Linked DNA regions of Homo sapiens: regions 2 and 3 are each linked to region 1. The links are contacts of gene promoters, found by promoter capture Hi-C in human tissues and cell types (Jung and others, 2019). All regions are on one chromosome and are shown on one strand. The core of a region is centred on a gene start or on the middle of the fragment in contact, and the rest is flanking DNA. Distances in the headings are between cores, read along the strand shown.

Region 1 (3,464 bases), core at 380-2,879:
GGGTCCTGCTTGTCCAGCTCCAGGACTGCCTGCTGTCCAAGGCTCTCCAGAAGCAGCAGTGAACCCCACCCTTATCAGCCCCAGCAACAGCCTCACAGCGTGAGGAGGCCCAGAAAGGCCTGGGAGCAGGGCCAGCCCCCACAAGGCAGTGAGGTCGGGAGGGATTCAGCCATTTCTCACACTCAAATGGAACCTCGGGCCACACAGCTCAGGCACACACCATCGGGGCTACTGGCTGCTTGGAGTTTATTTTCCGCTTGGTGCCAGGTGCACAGTTCCAGGTGTCAGGAAAGCTAGCGAGTGCTGGGGCCGGGCGGTAGAGAGCGGGGCTCTCACTGGTTTTTGGTGTCTGCTGTGTTGATGCGAAGGTCTGCTTGCTGCAGCCGCCTAGTTTACAGGGTGGGGGGTGGGAGGTGGGGAGGGGGGCGAGGGATGCGGAGTGGGGAGAGGGGCGGGGAGGGGCTCTGGTGGACTAGCGCCTCCGCAGGCCTGGGGCTGGTGGTAACCGCTCAGGTCAGGACGGGGGCCCAGCGCTGGCTGTGCTGGACTGACCGCCGGGCTGCTTCCTCGGGGCGTCCCGAGCCAGGCCACAGGCGGTCATGCTGCTGGAGGCCTGGGGAGGTTCCGAGTGCTCTGCGGACTCCAACACCGTGGCCATGAACGGGAGGGTGGACTTCCCGAAAAAGAAGCTGGCCCACCAATGACCCGGGTCAGCCTTGGGGAGACCTGAGAGAAGCGAAGTGGGGTCTTGATGCTGCCAGCTCCTGGAGGAGCGGGGGGAGAAAGGGGCGATCCTGCACTCACCTGGGGGGTGGGGAATGGCTTCCCCGGGGCACTCGGTACTGCTGCAGGAGCTGTTGCTGGAAGTGGAACCCAGGCGGCCTGGAGAGGAGAGGTCCCGTCAGCAACGCGGGGCGCGGAGCCCCCCAGCCCACCGGCCTTCAGGCCGAGCGCTGGTTCCGCAGCCTGCACGGGGCCGGCACTGGCGCCAGCAGAGCATCCGCGTGGATGGGGGGCAGGGGCTACTCACGCCGGTAGTAGTCGTGGGTGGCCACGAGCGAGCCGCTGGAGGGGATGGCCGCCATGCTTTAGCTTGCTGGCTGGTGGGATCTGCGCATGGGGGTGGAGGAGCCCCTCGGGTCAGCGGCCTTCCGTCATGAAGGGCGCTCCCCAGCGGGTGGAGCCGCCGCGCTGGGTTATTTACCGAGGCGGGGCTCCCCAGCTCCCGGCACCGCCTTCGCCGCGCGGGGCGCGGGCGGCTCCAACCAGCCCAAACCGGCCGAGCGGGTGGAACAAAGGCGCTTTGTGCGCGGGGCCCCGGCCCAGACGTCGGGAACCTGGTGGGCGCCGTCCCAACCCGCCCGACCCGAGAGGAGCCCGCCGGGGACCCCGAGCCCAGCGCTCGCCAGGCGGAGAGGAGAGGAGCCCCCGGCCCAGCCCCGCCCCTCGCCCCCCGCCCCTCGGGCCTGCTCGTCCCACCCGCGCGCGGCGCCCCTCACCTGGGCGGCGACCCCTCGCGGGCCTCGGCGCACGATCACGGGTGGCGGGGACGGGGGCGCTAGGCCACGGAGCCCATTTGCAGAGAAGACCGCGGGAAGCCGCGCCACGACAGAGAGGCGCGCGCGGGGTGCGCACGCGCGGACGCGCCCACTTATATGCGCGGGGGCCGCGGCGCGTCACGGAGGGCGGGGCGCACAGGCTCCTCCCCGGGCCCCACCCGGCCCCGCCCCTTTCCTGGCCCCGGCGAGGCCGCGCCCCCAGCTTCCACCTCGGTGCGACTCTCGCCGTCTGGCTTGGGCTGAGCCCAGCCCTGCGGCGTTCGTCTTGGGGCGGCCCGGCCGGTCCTGGGTCTGCAGGGGTTAAAAGGCCCCGCGCCCGGGTCCGGGAGCCCAGCCCCCGCCCCTCTCCCGGGCCCAGGCCCCCGTCTCGGACGCGTCTCGGAGCCCCGCCTGGTCCAGCCCGCCCGTCCTCTTCAGCCCTTGTGGAGGCGACGGGGGCGCCGGGCGGGCCAAAAAGTGCTACGTGCGCGGAGCCCTCCGGCCCGGCCTCCAGGGACTTCGCAGCCAGAGGAACCTGGATCTCTCCCGAGTCCCCCTCACAGCTCTGGCAGCTCCGGAACCTGCACCCCGGTTGCCCAGCCCCAGGACGCGCCTGCTGCCCGCAGGGGGCGGTGAAAGGGTGGGCGGATGGCGGGGCAGTGGGAGGCGGGGCCCAGTCGGAGAGCGGGGCGGATTTGGGCGGGTGAGGTGAGTCTCCAGTCGCCGGAGGCAGAGGCTGGGCCCCACTGCTCGGAGACCCCATGTTTGGGGAGCCCAGAGCGTTCCCGGCAGGGCCCTGGGGCCCGGGGGACGGCCCGCCATGCCAATCAGGAGGGGGCGCGTTTTCCCTTCCCAGGCAGAAAGGCGTCCTCCCTCTCCTCCTCCCCCCAGCGCAGAATCCTCCCCACACCTCCCTCGGCCCCGCAGGGGAAATCGGCCTGCCCCTACGGAAATCCCGTTTCTTTATACACCCGGTCCTGGCTGGGCGGTGTCTTCCCCGTGGAAGAGAGGGTCCGGGAGGTCCGTGGGGCGGAACAGTCCGAGGGCTTCGGGAGTCAGCCCGGGTGGATTTGTTTCGTGGCTCTCGTTGCTGGCTGGGACGGCCGTGTGCCCGTGTTGTTCCGGAGATCGAGGCCAACGGATGCCGTACTCTGTCCTCGCCGGGTGCTCAGTGAGGACCCACAGCTGGGCAGGGACCCTGGGAGGCCCCTGAGCAAGACTTGGAGGGACGCCCTTGTGCCCCCTGAGCACGTGGGGAAGGCGCTGTCCTGGGCCCTGCACCGCTCTGTGTGTTCATTGCACGAGTGTGGTAAGCACCTACTATGTGCACATGGCCGAGCCAAGCGCAGGGAACGGTAAACCAAGGGAGAACGGCCTTCCCGTGGGGAGCAGTGCAGAGGCTGGCGGGGGCGGGTGGTGGGGAGAGCTCAGGTTTCAGCTGAGGTCTAAGGACGGAGGGCAGGGAACCGCCTGAGCCCCACCTGGGAGGGGGAGCTCGGTGCCGGAGAGCAGTGCCAGGACCTGCGATGGGAGAGGTGTGCAGCCCCGAGGGGTCACTGATGAGGCAGACGGGTCAGTTGGGTTGACACTCAGAGGGTCCTCAGGGGCAGACGCTGAGACGGGGTTTGGGGTTTGGGGTGCAGAGTGAGTACTGGTGATCAGCACCTGGGAAGGGGTGGGGAGGGTGCAGGGCCGGGCAGGGACTGTAGGGGCGGCCTGCGTTGGGCTTGGCTGGCACAGCCTTTGTGGCTTGCTTGGACCCATATGCAGCCGCCCAGGGACGGGAGACCCTGGTGAGGTGTCTGTGGTCCAGGCCCACCCTGAAGGAGCCGTGGGGCCGACTGCCGACCACGCCTGACAGCACGGCCTTCCAGGTCACCCGCTTCCCTCTAGGCTGGCCTGACCCAGCTCACCTCATTCTCAACC
Region 2 (3,464 bases), core at 519-3,018, 390 kb before region 1:
AGAGGTAGTTAAGTAGTAAAACACATGCATTCACCTCAAAATTGAGACAGTATGATCTGACAAAACTTGTGATATCTGCTTTGAGTTTTATCTACACAGCAGCTGCAGCTTAGGAAACACTTACCACGTGCCTGCCATCTACTGAACAGAGCCCTTCCTAAGAGGCCTGTGAGACGGGCCTGGTCAGGGGGTGGGAGGGTAGCTCTGGGGTCACCTGTCTGAGCTGCCATTGACAGGGACTCAGTGGCCAGGCAAGTTACTCAACACCTCCCCATGTCGATCTCCTCTTTGTCGAATGGGCATTAAACAGTCCAGCAAGGTATGTCTGGGAGCTGGCTTGAATAAAGCGGTCAGACCCTATGCCAGGCACACAGTTAATGTTAGCTATTATGATGATGATCTGTGCTTTTCGGCTAAGAAGACTGAGACTCAGGAAGGTGGAGTAACCTATTTGCAGTCACCGTGCTAAGGATCAGCAGGGCTGTAACTGAAATCAAAGTCAGCCTCCCAAGCACCGTACATCGTAACTGATTCTCAGCATCCATTTCACAAAAGGCAGTAATTCTTCTCTGTCCTGATCACAAATAACTTATTTTCTTGTACATCAAGCCTTTTCTGAATAAGGTACTATATGGACCACTGTCATTTATTTTATTTTATTTTATTTTAGAGACAGAGTCTCACTATATCACCCAGGTAGGAGTGCAGTGGCTCAATCACACCTCACGGCAGCCTTGACCTCCTGGACTCCTGCAACCCTCCGAAGTAGTTGGGACTACAGGTGTGCAACCACCACACTTGGATAATTTTTTATTTTTTGTAGAGGCAGGATCTCCCTAAGTTGCCCAGGCTAGGCAAACTCCTGAGCTCAAGTGATCCTCCCACCTTAGACTCCCAATGTGCTGGGATTACAGGTGCGAGCGATGGCACCCAGGCCACTGTCATATTTTAATTAATTAATTAATTTTTTTTGAGACAGAGTCTCGATCACTCACCCAGGCTGGAGTGCAGTGGCGCGATCTCGGCTCACTGCAAGCTCCACCTCCCAGGTTCACGCCATTCTCCTGCCTCAGCCTCCCGAGTAGCTGGGACTATATACAGGCGCCCACCATCACACCCGGCTTTTTTTGTATTTTTAGTAGAGACGGGGTTTCATCGTGTTAGCCAGGATGGTCTCGATCTCCTGACCTCATGATCTGCCCGTCTCGGCCTCCCAAAATGCTGGGATTACAGGCGTGAGCCAGCGTGCTCGGCTATTAATTTATTTATTAAGACAGAGTCTTTCTATTGCTCAAGCTGGAGTGCAGTGGAGCAATGTCGGCTCACTGCAACCTCCGCCTTCTGGGTTTAAGCAATTGTCCTGCCTCAGCCTCCTGAGTAGCTGGAATTACAGGTGCCTGCACCACACCTGGCTAATTTTCATATTTTTAGTAGAGATGGAAGGGGTTTCGCCATGTTGGCCAGGCTGGTCTCAAACTCCTGACCCCAAGTGATCCACCCGTCTTGGCCTCCCGAAGTGGTGGGATTACAGGTGTGAGCCACCGTGCCTGGCCCCATATTTTTAAATAAAAGTAAAATAAGTACATATATAGACAAAGTTTACAAAGCTTAATACATGTTTTATTGGCTATATTTTAATTAATTCTCAGCTTGAAGACACATTAATTATTGTCGCGTAGAATTTTAGATGTAAAAAGTATTTTCCTTAATTAAAAAAAAAATCCTGGGCCGGGCATAGTGGCTCACGCCTGTAATCCCAGCACTTTGGGAGGCTGAGGCGGATCACCTGAGGTCAGTGAGTTCAAGACCAGCCTGGCCAACATGGTGAAACCCCGTCTCTACTAAAAATATAAAAATTAGCCAGGTGAGGTGGCACGTGCCTGTAATCCCAGCTACTCGGGAGGCTGAGGCAGGAGAATCGCTTGAACCCAGGAGGCGGAGGTTGCAGTGAGCCAAGATGGTGCCATTGCACTCCAGTCTGGGTGACAGAGCAAGACTTTGTCTCCAGAAAAAAAAAAAAATTAGCTGGGCAGGGTGGCACGCCCCTATAATCCCAGCTACTCGGGAGGCTGAGGCAGGAGAATTGCTTGAACCCAGGAGGCGGAGGTTGCAGTGAGAGCTGAGATCACATCATTGCACTCCAGCCTGGGTGACAAGAGCCAGACTCCGTGAAAAAAAAAAAAAAAAAATCTGCCATGTGCGGTCATGTGTGGTGGCTCACACCTGTAACCTGAGGTGGGAGGATCACTCGAGCCCAGAGGTGAAGGCTGCAGTGACTGCACCACTGTAAACCAGCCTGGGCAAGAGTGTGAGACCTTGTCTCTTAAAACAAAAAAATCCAGCCCCGGGTGTGGTGGCTCACACCTGCAATCCCAGTACTTTGGAAGGCTGAGGTGGGTCAATCACTTGAGGTCAGGAGGTCGAGATCGGCCTGGCCAACATGGTGAAACCCCATCTCTAGTAAAAATACAAAAATTAGCCGGGCATGGTGGTGCACACCTGCAGTTCCAGCTACTCAGGAGGCTGAGGCAGGAGAGTCACTTGAACCCGGGAAGCAGAGGTTGCAGTGAGCCGAGATCGTGCCATGGCACTCCAGCCTGGGCGACAAGAGCGAGACCCCATCACATACACAAAAGACAGGAAAAAAAAAAAAAAGCCAGGCACGGTGGCTCACCCTATAATCCTGACACTTTGGGAGGCCGAGGCAGGCGGATCACCTGATGTCAGGAGTTCGAGACCAGCCTGGCCAACATGGTGAAACCCCCGTCTAGACTAAAAATACAAAAATTAGCCGGGCGTGGTGGCGGGCACCTGTAATCCCAGCTACTCTGGAGGCTGAGGCAGGAGAATCGCTTGAACCCGAGAGGCAGAGGTTGCAGTGAGCCGAGATCGCGCCGTTGCACTCCAGCCTGGGGTACAACAGCGAGACTTTGTCTCAAGAAAAACAAAAACAAACAAAAAAACCCCCACAGTTTATTAATCTGCCTTATTGTCCTTTGCCTTTTAAAAATATAAGATAAGCCTGTTTAAGGCTTTACTGGGAGGCAGCTGTCAGTCAGCCAGCTGTTCTGGAGTCAGTCCAGGGCAAAGGCTGCTGTAGGAACAGCATTAGCACAACTTTGCCTATTTATCCTTAACCAGAGCAGGTTTACAAGGATGCCTATACCATGAACACCTGCACGCATCTCAGTCCGCCCACCTGGAGGTCAGACACACTAAGAGGCAGCTGGACCAGCTCCCTGTTCAAGGCCACTTCAGATTCTATGTGAGTTACAGTGCCCTTGTCTTAAAGTATTTTCATAAATGTGAATTAAGCAGTGCTCACACCAGGGAGAAGGATGCTGTGAGTCTGTCTGTTGGTCTGCTGGTGACAATCAGTTAGGGTTACCCAACCTGGCGGGATGATGCAAGAGAAAACAGCACCAACAGAAACCACATCGTAAGAGGTAATTTTGGGGAAAAAA
Region 3 (3,464 bases), core at 265-2,764, 270 kb after region 1:
CACCATCTGATTCCTGAATATTCTTATCTCCCCAGCACTGCAAACAACCTGACGCTCCCCCTCCCTCCACAACTGGCCACACCTTTGCTCTCTAACCTTTGGGGCTTGGAAGCTACCCCCTCACCCGCCCATGAGCCTGGACTACAGATCTGGGGTGGCTCCCCGCAGTGCAGAAAACCTGACCCTTGGTCTTCTGTTAACCCCTCCTGATCCCCGGGACTGTGGGACACACAACCAAAATTAGGAAGGCAAGAATCCTCAGTAATTCATAAAATCTCGAGTGGGGCAGGAATTCAGGTTGCCATGGGAAACCCATCTCAGGCTCCTCAGGCGGTGGGTGGCAGTCAGGGAGCCTGCCCTGCCACTGAGTAAAGACCAAGTGGCAGCCCTGGCCCGGCCACCTGCCCTGATCTCCCGCTGTTCTGCCCCCATGGGCTTTCCGACCGGCTGACACTCTGGCTCACTGTATCCACGTCCTGCTCCTCTCGGGCCTGGCTGGGACCCTTCCCTGCCTCCAGCGCAAGCTTCTTCCGGAAGCGCAGGCTTTACGGGGTTCAGCCCCATCCAGACCCCAGGACCTGCCCTGGGCAGCTGGGTCCTGCCTCCACCGTGCACAAGGCCTCAGGCTGTCCCAACCCGAGGCTCCCTAGGCCCCTCCCGCGCAGGCAGGAGGCCGGTCCAGGCAGTTGGAGCAGACCTGGCCTTCAGGTCTCAGCCTTCCAGCAGAGGAGCTCCCTGTGGGAGGTGGGCGAGCCCGGCTCACTCCCTCCTCCTGAGTCCTCGGCCCGCCCGCCCGTGGAGGGGACCTCTGAGCTCTGGACCCGGGTCCAGGACTTCTCCAAGCCAAGGAATCTCTGAGACTCTCAGAGAAAACGCCTCGCGGATGCGGGTCGCTCAGACCCCACACGGGGAAGGTTGATGGGGATCTCACGCCGGAGGGCGCACGGCGGGAGCAGGTGCTGGGCAGGTCATCCTGCAGGAGGGGGCGGACGCCGGTCATCCCTGCCGCGTCCAGGGCGGGCTCCCCTCAGCTGCAGGTCTGTCCTGGGGCCGCGGCGCCGCCCCTCGCTACCCGAGAGGCCGCGCCATCGCCCCTTTAAGAACGGTCCCCCTCTCCGGCCGGCGCGAAGCCCCCAGGGGCCGCAGGCGGGGGTGGGAGGGGAGACGCAGCGCAGCTGTTACCCGGGGCTGGGGCTGGGCCGGGGGTTGCGGGGAGGAGGGGGGAACGGGATGCGGAGGGGGCGGGGTCCAGGCTGCGGCGCGTGGGGAGCGGGCGGAGCGGGGGCGGGGGCCGAGCGCGGGGCACCCGGGGGCCTCCTGTATAGGCGGGCACCATGGGCTCCTGCTCCGGCCGCTGCGCGCTCGTCGTCCTCTGCGCTTTTCAGCTGGTGAGTGGCGACCCCTCCGCGAGCCTCCTGGAGCCCCCGGTGCCCGACCCACGGCGGCTGTGGGGTCCCGAAGCGTCCCTCCGCCCCGGGGCCCGTTCGCTGGGTCCCGCGCCAGCTCCGAGGGGGGATGCCTCGGACCCCGGGCTGCTACGGCCGAAGGTGGCGTCGCCTGCGGGGCGTGGGGAGTCGCGGCGCCGGGTCCCGTCCCCGGTGTGCGTGCGCGGGGGGCGGCCGCGGGTCCGGAGCGGCGGGGACAGGTGCGGGGCAGCGGCTGGATGGGCTGGCCGGACGGAAGCCTTCGGGCGGGGCCGCCTGGACCCCATCGCCTGGGGAGGCGTGTGTGGCCCCGGGTGCGCCCCCGGGTGCGCGCCTGTCTCTGTCTGTGCGAGCGTTTCCCGCAGCCGGCCCCGGGCGCCGAGTGAGCGGCCAAGTTCCGATTCTGAGATTCGGGTGGGGCGATGACGGAGGCTGTGCCTGCGAGTTTGCGAGTGTAGGGGGCGGGGGGTGAGAACGTCCTGCCCACCCGCGAGCAAACCGGCCCCGCCCGCCCCCGCCGCCCCCCATTCCGCCCGGCGTGGAGCTACGCGGAGGCGAGAAGGGGCTGGAGCCGATGCCCGGGGCGCAGCGCGGGCGTCTTCGGTGTCGGGATTGGTCGGGGCTCCCTCGGCCAAGTTTCCATTCTGCCCCGGAGTCCGAAGCTCCCTGGGACGCCTGGGGGGCGGATTCTTTCCCGGAGCCCGGTGCCCTCGGGGGAGGGGGCTAAACAAAGGCCTCGCCTGTCCAGGCTGGGGAAGCTGCTTTGCTTCGATGCTAATTGGCCCTGGGTCTCCCGTCTTAAAAAGGAAACGATGCTTTGTGGGCTGCGGAGCGCAGCTGGACCGCGCGCCCCCCTCCTCCTCTTGAAGCTAGAAGGGCCAGAAGGGGCTGTTTCAGAGTTTTGAGCAGCGAAACCCTCGGAGTCCGTGGCTGTGCAGCTTGGGTGTCCTGTGCTCGGCTTAGGGGCACAGGCTTGCGGGCGGACCTAGGGACGGCGGAGGCATCGTGTCCTTCCTGCAGGAAGGAAGGAGCTTCCGGCGCTTTCCTGGGAGGCTCGCTGGGGCCGCGGAGATAACCTGAGGTCCTGCAACAGGCTGGGGGCCCAAGGACCATCCCAGGCCTTGGAACAGTTGGTATCTTTCAGTGAGTGGCTCCTCAATGGCAGGAGTCCCTTAGGAGACTGGTGGGGAGGGGCTGGAAGCAGGAATGGGGAGAGCAAGGGTGGGCACTCGAAGACTCCAGTGCCCGTCGGATGACCTCATGAAGGACAGGCACCAGCCTGGACGGTACCCCAGTTTGGAGCATGGCCAGTGGCAGCTGGTGATGCATGAGCGTCAGGAAGTGAGGCTGCTTTGGGGGACACTAGTGACATTGGTTTCCATCTGTTGAAGGTGGTGTGAGGATGTGCTGGGGTTGATGGTGCTGGGGTTTGGGCAGGAGAAATGGGTGCTTCAGTCTCAGGTGCAGGGTGAGGCACGACTGTGCTGGTCGGATGTGACCTCAGGGTGCAGAGGGGCGGGTGGGGTCATGTTCCCGTTTCACCTCTGCGGTGGACAGTAGACAGATGGGCGCACATGCAGGCCCTTGGAAATTTGGTTGCAGCCAAGAGGGAAAGAGTCATCCTGGCTTGAGGGCCGCAGGGCTTCACTAGCAGACCTGGGGACTCTCCAGGGACTGGGCAGAGCCGTGTCCTCTCAGGGCCAGCCTCTGGGTCACTGCTGAACCGCAGCAGGGAGCTGTCAAAGGCCTTTTGTCCTGGCCGGGTTGGCAATCTGGCAGCCCACTGTGCCTCCTCTGCCTTGGGGAAGAAGAGTCCTTGACCACAGCTCTAGTCACTGCATGGGGGTAGGGGGCCCGGGAGGAAGGGCGGGGTTGTTGGATAGCCCCTTTTTTTTTTTGACAAGTGTGAGAATTTTGTGTTACCAAGCTACAGGACAAAGGGCCCAGGCATCTCTTCTGAGCGCCTTTCTCCCCAAAGAACAGTGTGAACTTTGCTGGCTCTGAGCCGGGCTGTGCTGCGTCCAATTCCCAGGCTCTGCC

What was found. Contacts are between HindIII fragments. The study calls those that stand out against the background at their distance.
Region 2: a contact is called between a fragment that was not itself captured here and the fragment with the promoter of PPDPF in region 1, in 1 of the 25 tissues and cell types used here (dorsolateral prefrontal cortex).
Region 3: a fragment that was not itself captured here is called in contact with the fragment with the promoter of PPDPF in region 1 in 1 of the 25 tissues and cell types used here (mesenchymal stem cells).

The regions. Positions count from the first base shown.
Region 1 is chr20:63,518,930-63,522,393 of GRCh38, reverse strand. PPDPF (pancreatic progenitor cell differentiation and proliferation factor) reads right to left here and starts at 1,629. Exons shown (of 4, transcript NM_024299.4): 1 at 1,500-1,629; 2 at 1,031-1,110; 3 at 805-882; 4 at 188-726. The coding sequence starts at 1,085. The coding sequence ends at 515. LOC102723814 (a long non-coding RNA gene) reads left to right here and starts at 1,721. Exons shown (of 2, transcript XR_430332.4): 1 at 1,721-3,464. RefSeq lists silencers at 1,177-1,376, 1,487-2,036, 2,097-2,346 and enhancers at 1,619-2,495, 2,496-3,372, 3,373-3,464. The HindIII fragment of the contact is 19,807 bases long and covers 1-3,464 here.
Region 2 is chr20:63,904,294-63,907,757 of GRCh38, reverse strand. All of the region lies in intron 1 of DNAJC5 (DnaJ heat shock protein family (Hsp40) member C5), which reads right to left. Among named protein-coding and RNA genes, the nearest start is that of DNAJC5, 11 kb to the right of the region's middle. The HindIII fragment of the contact is 9,611 bases long and covers 1-3,464 here.
Region 3 is chr20:63,252,321-63,255,784 of GRCh38, reverse strand. It overlaps NKAIN4 (sodium/potassium transporting ATPase interacting 4), which reads left to right and starts at 1,322. Exons shown (of 7, transcript NM_152864.4): 1 at 1,322-1,388. The coding sequence starts at 1,335. FLJ16779 (a long non-coding RNA gene) reads right to left here and starts at 1,807. Exons shown (of 1, transcript NR_024389.1): 1 at 1-1,807. RefSeq lists enhancers at 1,003-1,534, 1,535-2,066, 3,138-3,464. The HindIII fragment of the contact is 7,354 bases long and covers 1-3,464 here.